2 separate regions of the Homo sapiens genome follow, and region 2 is linked to region 1. Evidence: promoter capture Hi-C in human tissues and cell types (Jung and others, 2019). All regions are on one chromosome and are shown on one strand. Each heading gives the region's core, a stretch centred on a gene start or on the middle of the fragment in contact. The rest is flanking DNA. Distances are from core to core; before and after follow the strand shown.

Region 1 (3,715 bases), core at 1-2,500:
GAGGGAGTTGGGGGGAAGGGGAGGAGTGGAGGCAAGTGTGAAAACTCCCCTATGCTACAGGAAGGGTCCACAACAATTCGGAAGTCGCTCCCGGCTCCTGCCACATCGTGTGCCTTGCAGTTTCCACTGAAATTGCAGACTGTAGTGGATTAATCCTCCAGAAGCACGGAAAAAAGGGTCTGAGAAAATCCTTTCATCCACTGATTATACAGAAATGTCCTTGGCTTCTCAGTGAAGGTGTCTGTGATCTCCCTCATTCGGATTCCCCAGAGAGAACAGGGCAGGTTTCGTCAAAACCTTTGACGGCCAAATCACCCTGCCTGGCATCAACCGTTTGGGTTTCTTCACCAAAAAGTCCGTTTCCATCCATGGTGGTAGGTCACGGAGGCGCCACCTGCCCCACGCCTGCCTAGGGCACACGAAGCAAGTTGGCGTTCGGCAGCCCTGAAGCGGTACCCCAGCGCGAGCAGATTTCTAAAACAAACACAACAGAGATTTTTATCAAAGGCAAAGCTGCAAAACCCACTGGGGCTGAGCGCTGAGCTGGTCCGGACACCTGGGTCCGGTTCCTGGACCAGGACAGTCAACCTCTGCATTCTGACCTTGGGCAAGTCTCTGTCTTTCCCTCCGCCTCAGTTTCCCTGCCCAGAGCAGGGCAACAGTGGGAAGCCCGATTGTTCCTGAAATACTTCCACCAAATGCTTCACTCCTGGGAATTCCCGTCACCTCCTACCGAGCCCGGGCGCCGCAGGTAGCCCCACCCTCCGCCAGGGCAAATCGGGAAGGGGCTCCGCGGTGGGGCCGCGACTCCCGGCCCCCGCCCCAACCGTGGGAGCTCTGCGCGCGACGCGTCCCAGGTGGCCCCGCTATTGTTTTACCTTGCAGGGTGTTTATATCTCGCTGATTGGAAAGAAAAGAAACCGGGGAAGAAGGGAGTCCGGAGCTCCGCTTTCAGCTGCCGGAGCGCGCTCGCAGCGCGCCCGCCCAGCCAGGGGAGGGGTCTCGGGCCCGACCCGGAGCTCAGCCGGCGCGGGCCCGCTCCCCACTCCCCGCTCCCCGCTCCCCGCTCCACGCCTCCCCGCCTCCCTCCCCGGGGCCCCCTCCGGGCGCCGCCCGCGCCCCCGCCGAGCCTGACCTCGCCCCTGGCCCTCTCCCTCCGCGCGCGTCGGACCGTCCTTCAGTCCATCCAGGCGCACGCCTCAGGGGACGCGCCGCTTCCTCTTCTCCCGCAACGGCACCAGCAGCCGCGCTGCGGCCCCTCCCGAGTCCCCGCCCCTCCAGCTCCAGCCCGGCCCGCCGCACTCGGCGAGGCGAGCGCGGGGCCAGGGCGGCGGCCTCGAAGAGAGGCCCGGCCCCGCCCCCGGCCCCGCCCCTGGAGACGCGAGTCCCGGCCCCGGGCCTGGCGGGGGCATGAGGGTGGCCCGGGGCACCGGAGGACCTGGGCAGGGCTGGCGTGTGGGCCGAGCAGCCCGGCAAGTTAATCAGGGCTTCACACCCAGACTCCGGGGCCGCCGGCGAGATGTACAGGCCCTTCCCAAAGCCCAGCTGGCCACCCATAACCTGGGAAGCCGGCGGCACAGAAGCTCGTCCTTCCTCCTGGAAACAAAAACAAAGCCCTTTGGAGACTTGAATCTGTTCACGAAGTGGAACCCCATATTGCACTTCACTCTTGGATAGAATTTGGACTCTGGAAACAGCCTGGGTTCTAACGCCGGTTCCTCCACTTCCTCGCTGTGGCCCTTGGCAAGTTACTTAACCTCTCTGTGCCTCAATTTCCCCATCTGCTATGTGGAGGAAATAACCCTTACTTAAGAGGGTTATGGGAGAAATCTGTGACATACTTGTAAAGCATTTAGAATGGTGCCTGATACATCACAAGTGGTCAGTAAATATAAGCTATTATTATTTTATGACCAACCGCCCTGTAAAGCAAGTGCTTTTTCGTTTTCTCACTACTTACCCAACACACACAACTTGCTGGGTAGACACCGTCACGAGGCGACCAAAGCAGAATAGACCGCCCTGCCCTCATGCAACTTGCAGTCTAGTGGGGACACAGACCATAAAATAGACATGACAAGAAAAGTACAGTGTTGAGGAAGCAAATGCAGAGACCCCAACCCTGTGTTATTGGGGGAGGGGCAAGGAGGAGGGAGCTTTGGTCGGGGTAGGTCCCAGGCTTCTCAGAGGAAAGGAAAACTCGGTTGAATGCCAAAGAACAGAAGGCAGCAGCAGAGGAAGAGACAGAGGGGAGGTAAGGAATCGCAGACTGAAGAAACAGCACCTCTGCAGGCCCAGAAAGGAGCCCAGTTAGAGGACCAGGACAGTCTGCTGGGCCCAAACTTGACTGTAGGAGAGAAGTGACAAGAAATGAGCTGAGAAGAAATCGAGTGCCAGAACCTAGAGGGCATTGTATGGTGTGTTAAGGGGTTGGGACCATTGGGAAGCCACTGAAGGTGTTGAGTAAGGGACTATGGTTATCAGATATACGTTTTATTTTTCATTTTATTTTAAGAGACAGGTTCTCACTCTGTGACCCAGGCTGGAATGCAGTGGTGTAATCTTGTCTCACTGCAACCTCCACCTCCCGGGTTCAAGTGATTCTCCTGCCTCAGCCTCCTGAGTCACTGGGACTACAGGCGTGCACCACCACACCCGGATAATTTTTGTACTTTTAGTAGAGACAGTGTTTCACCATGTTGGGCAGCCTGGTGTTGAACTCCTGACCTGGTGATCTGCCCGCCTCAGCCTCCCAAAGTGCAGAGATTACAGGCATGAGCTACTGTGCCCAACCAGGAATCTTTCCTTGTGTGTTAATTATTACCTCTTTCCCAGAGACACCCGTGACTCTGGCAGCTCTCAGTTCCCATTTGCTAGACTCCTTCATTTATTTATTGAGCACCTACTACGTGTTAAGAAAAGTCTCTGCTCTCATGAAGCTTACATTCTGGTGGGAAACACAGACAATGAAACAAGTATATAATATAATGTAACGTGTTCTGAAGAAAAGTGGAGTATAGAAATGTGTGGGCGGGCACAGTGGCTCATGCCTATAATCCCAGCACCTTGGGAGGCCAAGGCAGGGGGATCACTTGATGTCAGGAGTTCGAGACCAGCCTGGCCAACATGGCGAAACCCTGTCTCTACAAAAAATACAAAAATTAGCCAGCCGTGGTGGTGCACACTTGTGGTCCCAGCTACTTGGGAGGCTGAGGCATGAGAATCGCTTGAACCTGGGAGGCAGAGGTTGCAACGAGCTGAGATCACACCACTGCAGTCCAGCCTGGGCAACAGAGCGAGAGTATCTCCAAAACAAACAAACAAACAAATAAAAAACAGAAAGGAAAAGAAATAGTGTGTATGTTTGGGGGTTCCAGTGGGAAGAAGGACTCTTTGCTAGGTGAGGTGGTCAGAAAAGACCCCTCAGAGGAAGTGACATTTGAGCGAGACCTGATTACAGGGAGTGTGTGAGCGCTGGAGATTTCTGGAGTAAGAAGATTCCAAGTGCAGGGAACAGCAAGTGCAAAGCCCCATAACATGTTCAGAAAATTAAAGGTGTGTTAGTGTGTCTGAAATGGCATAAAACAGAAGGAGAAGGAGGAATGTGATCAGAGAGGTCAAAGAGGCCAAATCTAGTAGGACCTTCTAACCTGAGGAGCTTGGCTCACTCTGGCTGCTGGGTAAGAATAGAGCATCAGATGGTAGGGGTGGACAA
Region 2 (3,618 bases), core at 826-3,325, 90 kb before region 1:
GAGAAAAGGCAGGTCTGTGTGTCTGTCAGAAAATGGCTGAGCAATCGCCACCATGCTCCCCTCAGCTGGGAATCAGCAAAGTATCTGCCGAGCAGCCCAGGCCACCTGCATACCTGCAGACCCTTGAAGGATCAGCACAGACACTGGCCTGGGGAATCCCATGGCCTCCCCTGCAGTCTGCTCGTTCTCAGAACAGGGCTTCACTGGAATCTTTTATCAGACTTAGTTCCAGAATCCCTGATGACTTTTTCCAAACTGTGACCCCCTCTTGGGATTCAGGATGTAAGTTCCCAGAGTAAAGGAGATGGCATGCTTGGCCAGAAAAATATGGGAAAGCAAGGGTATAAGAACATCTTCATAAAGGGAGCAAAAGGAAATATTTGCAATTGATGATGCCCTAAGAAGGACAAGCAGCACCTGGCCCAACAGTGTAAAAGAACAGGGTGACACCAGCCATCATGGGGCTCAAGGGGCGTTAAAATAAAAAGCCACCATAACAATGAACAACCAAACAACCTAGAACCACAAGAGAGATCAAGAAAGGGAAAGGAAAAATCCCACAGACAATGCCTTGTGATCACAGTCTGCTGAGACTAGGCAAACAGAAAGGATGACAAAGGGCTGCGTCTGGACTGCCCCCAGGCTGATATTCTTATGGCAGTGAGAGGCAGGGAGAGAAAAATGAATAAGGAAGACATCACTATAATTAAGGAAAATCTAATTGGAAGGAAGAAGAAAAACCTAGTCTTCACACCTCCAGGGAGGTAGATATTTCTCTGCACTCTCCAACACCAGGCCCTGGAAACCCCCCTCCCACCCCTCACTGTCCCACCAAACTTAGTGTCAGCCAGCCCCGTGCCCTCCGTCAGGTGTCTGCCATGGCTGCTTTGGCCCTGTGCTCAGCTCAGGGGCCCACTTCCAAGTTCACTGGACACTTTCTTTTAAGAGTTTGGCAAAGCACCTGAAGACACAGGCCCACCTGCTCACAGTTAATCAGTTAGAGACCATCCTTGCAGCTCAGAGCAAGCCAACAGCCAGCCTTTCTCCCTTCCTTCTCTAGTCACTGGCTTTGACAAATCTGCAGGTCAGCAGCTGCTAAAAGCAGCCCCTGCCCACTTTAATTTGGAAAGTGTGTGCCGTTTGGGGCTTCTGACCCATTCTCCAAGACAGTTTTCTTATTTTTTGGCAAGGATGGGATGAAGCCTTTTTTGCCTCCCTGACAGATAGGCCGGGCACCATCTACTCCTAATGGGGTTATGCAGGATTTCTCTTGTACATACACAGTTCTTTGAAGCAAAATTCAGTGCTTTCGTCTTGACTACAAAGTGGTTCCAATAACTCCAGCTGAGGGAAAAGACAACATACAAATTTTGCCCACACTACACACAATTCTTAAGTCTTGTTAAGAAAGTAAAAAACGTTTGGGTATATTTTGATCCATGGGTGGCATTTTCAAATGTGCAAAAACAAAGTCTTGGAAGAGATTCCTTGTCACTAGAAAGTTCGCCCTTCCTTTTGCTGTCAGTTGTACGTAAGAGAAATTCGTCCACATTAAGGAATCCAAAAAGGGTAAACTAAAGGGATTTAAAAAGAGTACATTACAAAGAATAAGAAGCCCTGTAACATCTATCTGAGAATACTAGATAAATCTGTGAGTAGATGTGGCACCTGGAGCTACTCACTACATTACTAAAAACAGAAACAAGAAATCTATAATGGCAGGATCACAACATTTGCGCGCAAATAGCTAACCAACCAAGACTGCCACCGAGAGGCAGTCTGTCTCTGTGACTGACTGGGAACTTGGAACACTTTTCAAGTCTGACAACTTTCCACACACATGCACCCCAGAGTTTGGGTGCTGTCAACTGTCCAATCACAGAGAAAGGGAGAGCCTCAGCTCCTCCGTGGCCAACATCCGCTGGGGCATCACCCGCTTAGTCTATGGCCCCTGGATGGATACTGAGAACAGGGGGCTCCAGGCAAGTAGGGGAGTAGTTGAGGTGTGGCTCTTTGATCCACAGCAGAGGCACCCCATTCTTCCCATCAGAGTTCTTGCTGGAGTTCCGGCTCTTGAAACGCACCAGAAGGATGGTGATGATAAGAATGCCAAAGATGGGGAAAGGGTAGAAGAAGACGAAGTAGAAGAGTGCGTCGTTGGAGCAGATGATGGACTGGAGGGTGGGACCTGAAAAGAATCATGAGAGAGACAAGACAATGAGGGCTGAGAACCTGGACTGCTCACATTTCCTTTTGAAGACCTCACCTGACCCAGTGGAAGCTCCTCGGTGACACTCCCACACCACCTTGTCTTTCCCCTGCTACCATTAATGGTGGAAGATGACCCTTATATTCTTTTTCTCGCAACACCTCTCCTAATTTACGGCTGTATGTTCCAACAAAGCAATGCTTCTGTTTTCCATTGAGAGCCATTATTGCTGCTTGGAAAGCCACATAATGAAACATAATTTATTGATTGTGAACTCAACTGCATCTAGAATGGTGAAGAAGCTGCTCTGGTTCAGTCGGAGCCTCCTGCATGGTTGGATTTTACATGCCCCTTTGCACTTAGTTCTGCTACAGACTTCCTTCTCTGGGATTATGACACAATCCCTTCCTGCCAGCTTCTGAGAGCAGTTTTACCAGAAATGACACTTACCTGATTAATGTTATCAATTAAATGTCATTATGGACCACTTACAAACGTCCACAGTGTGTCCGTGGCCACAAAGAACACAGTATTAGTTATAGCTGGATATGGAAGAGAATAAACCAGGCGCCCCAAGACAGGTTGAGGGCTGCTCTATAAGTCATTAGACCTTGGCAGGAGCCTAGCCTCTGGGAGCCCCTGTTTTCTCTGTAAAATAAGGCTGCTGGGTGACCTCTGTGCTCGATGAAGCTTAATAATTAGGGACATCCACAATGGACAGGTAAAATGTTGCCTAGACTGCTTTGTTTTCGCTTTGAGGCAGTGGGTTATTCAGTGGATCACAGGGTGGTCTATGTATGATGCAGCCTGCTTTCCCTTTTACTGAATAGCTGTTGCTCATCAGTATTATTAAGAACATTTAATCTGCCTGTTATTCAATTTCCAAAGTGTATGAAACTGCTGATAGTCCACCATTGTTGACCTGCAAAACTCCAATTTCATATGGTTCTAACACAATGTGAGCACGGGGTGATCAAGGCAAAAAAATAGTGGCCCAAACTTTAAAAACTCAAATCAAGATGATGTTGAAAAATGTTTTGACTAAAAAGAAGTTAAAAATTCCAGCAATCTTTTTTTTCTTTCTGTATTCTAGGCTAATTCTACTATAACACCATTTTTAGTCTAATGTAGTCCACATTTTGATGGCAAGCCAACCAAGAGTGCATTGTTACAACAAATAATTCAGGCCAGCAATACTTCCCCCAGTCTCTGTTCATAGTGGAAGTCCCTCAGGATCATGGAAACTGCATTCTGGGCAGCTGCAAATCCATCCCCTCTCAGCTCTCCTCTAATATCACAGCCCTTCTAGGCTGGTCCTCCCAACCATACAAGATCCACCTCAACCTCCAAGGCACCCTCCAAAATAACAATAACGCAGAAACTGGACAAAAAGAAATAATGACAGTGAG

What was found. Contacts are between HindIII fragments. The study calls those that stand out against the background at their distance.
Region 2: a contact is called between a fragment that was not itself captured here and the fragment with the promoter of IGSF3 in region 1, in 4 of the 25 tissues and cell types used here (bladder, liver, lymphoblastoid cells and 1 more).

The regions. Positions count from the first base shown.
Region 1 is chr1:116,666,483-116,670,197 of GRCh38, forward strand. It overlaps IGSF3 (immunoglobulin superfamily member 3), which reads right to left and starts at 1,251. Exons shown (of 11, transcript NM_001007237.3): 1 at 1,136-1,251; 2 at 1-474. RefSeq lists a silencer at 1,096-1,485. The HindIII fragment of the contact is 6,759 bases long and covers 1-3,715 here.
Region 2 is chr1:116,575,375-116,578,992 of GRCh38, forward strand. IGSF3 (immunoglobulin superfamily member 3) reads right to left here. Exons shown (of 11, transcript NM_001007237.3): 11 at 1-2,188. The coding sequence ends at 1,938. Among named protein-coding and RNA genes, the nearest start is that of CD58, 6.2 kb to the left of the region's middle. The HindIII fragment of the contact is 7,997 bases long and covers 1-3,618 here.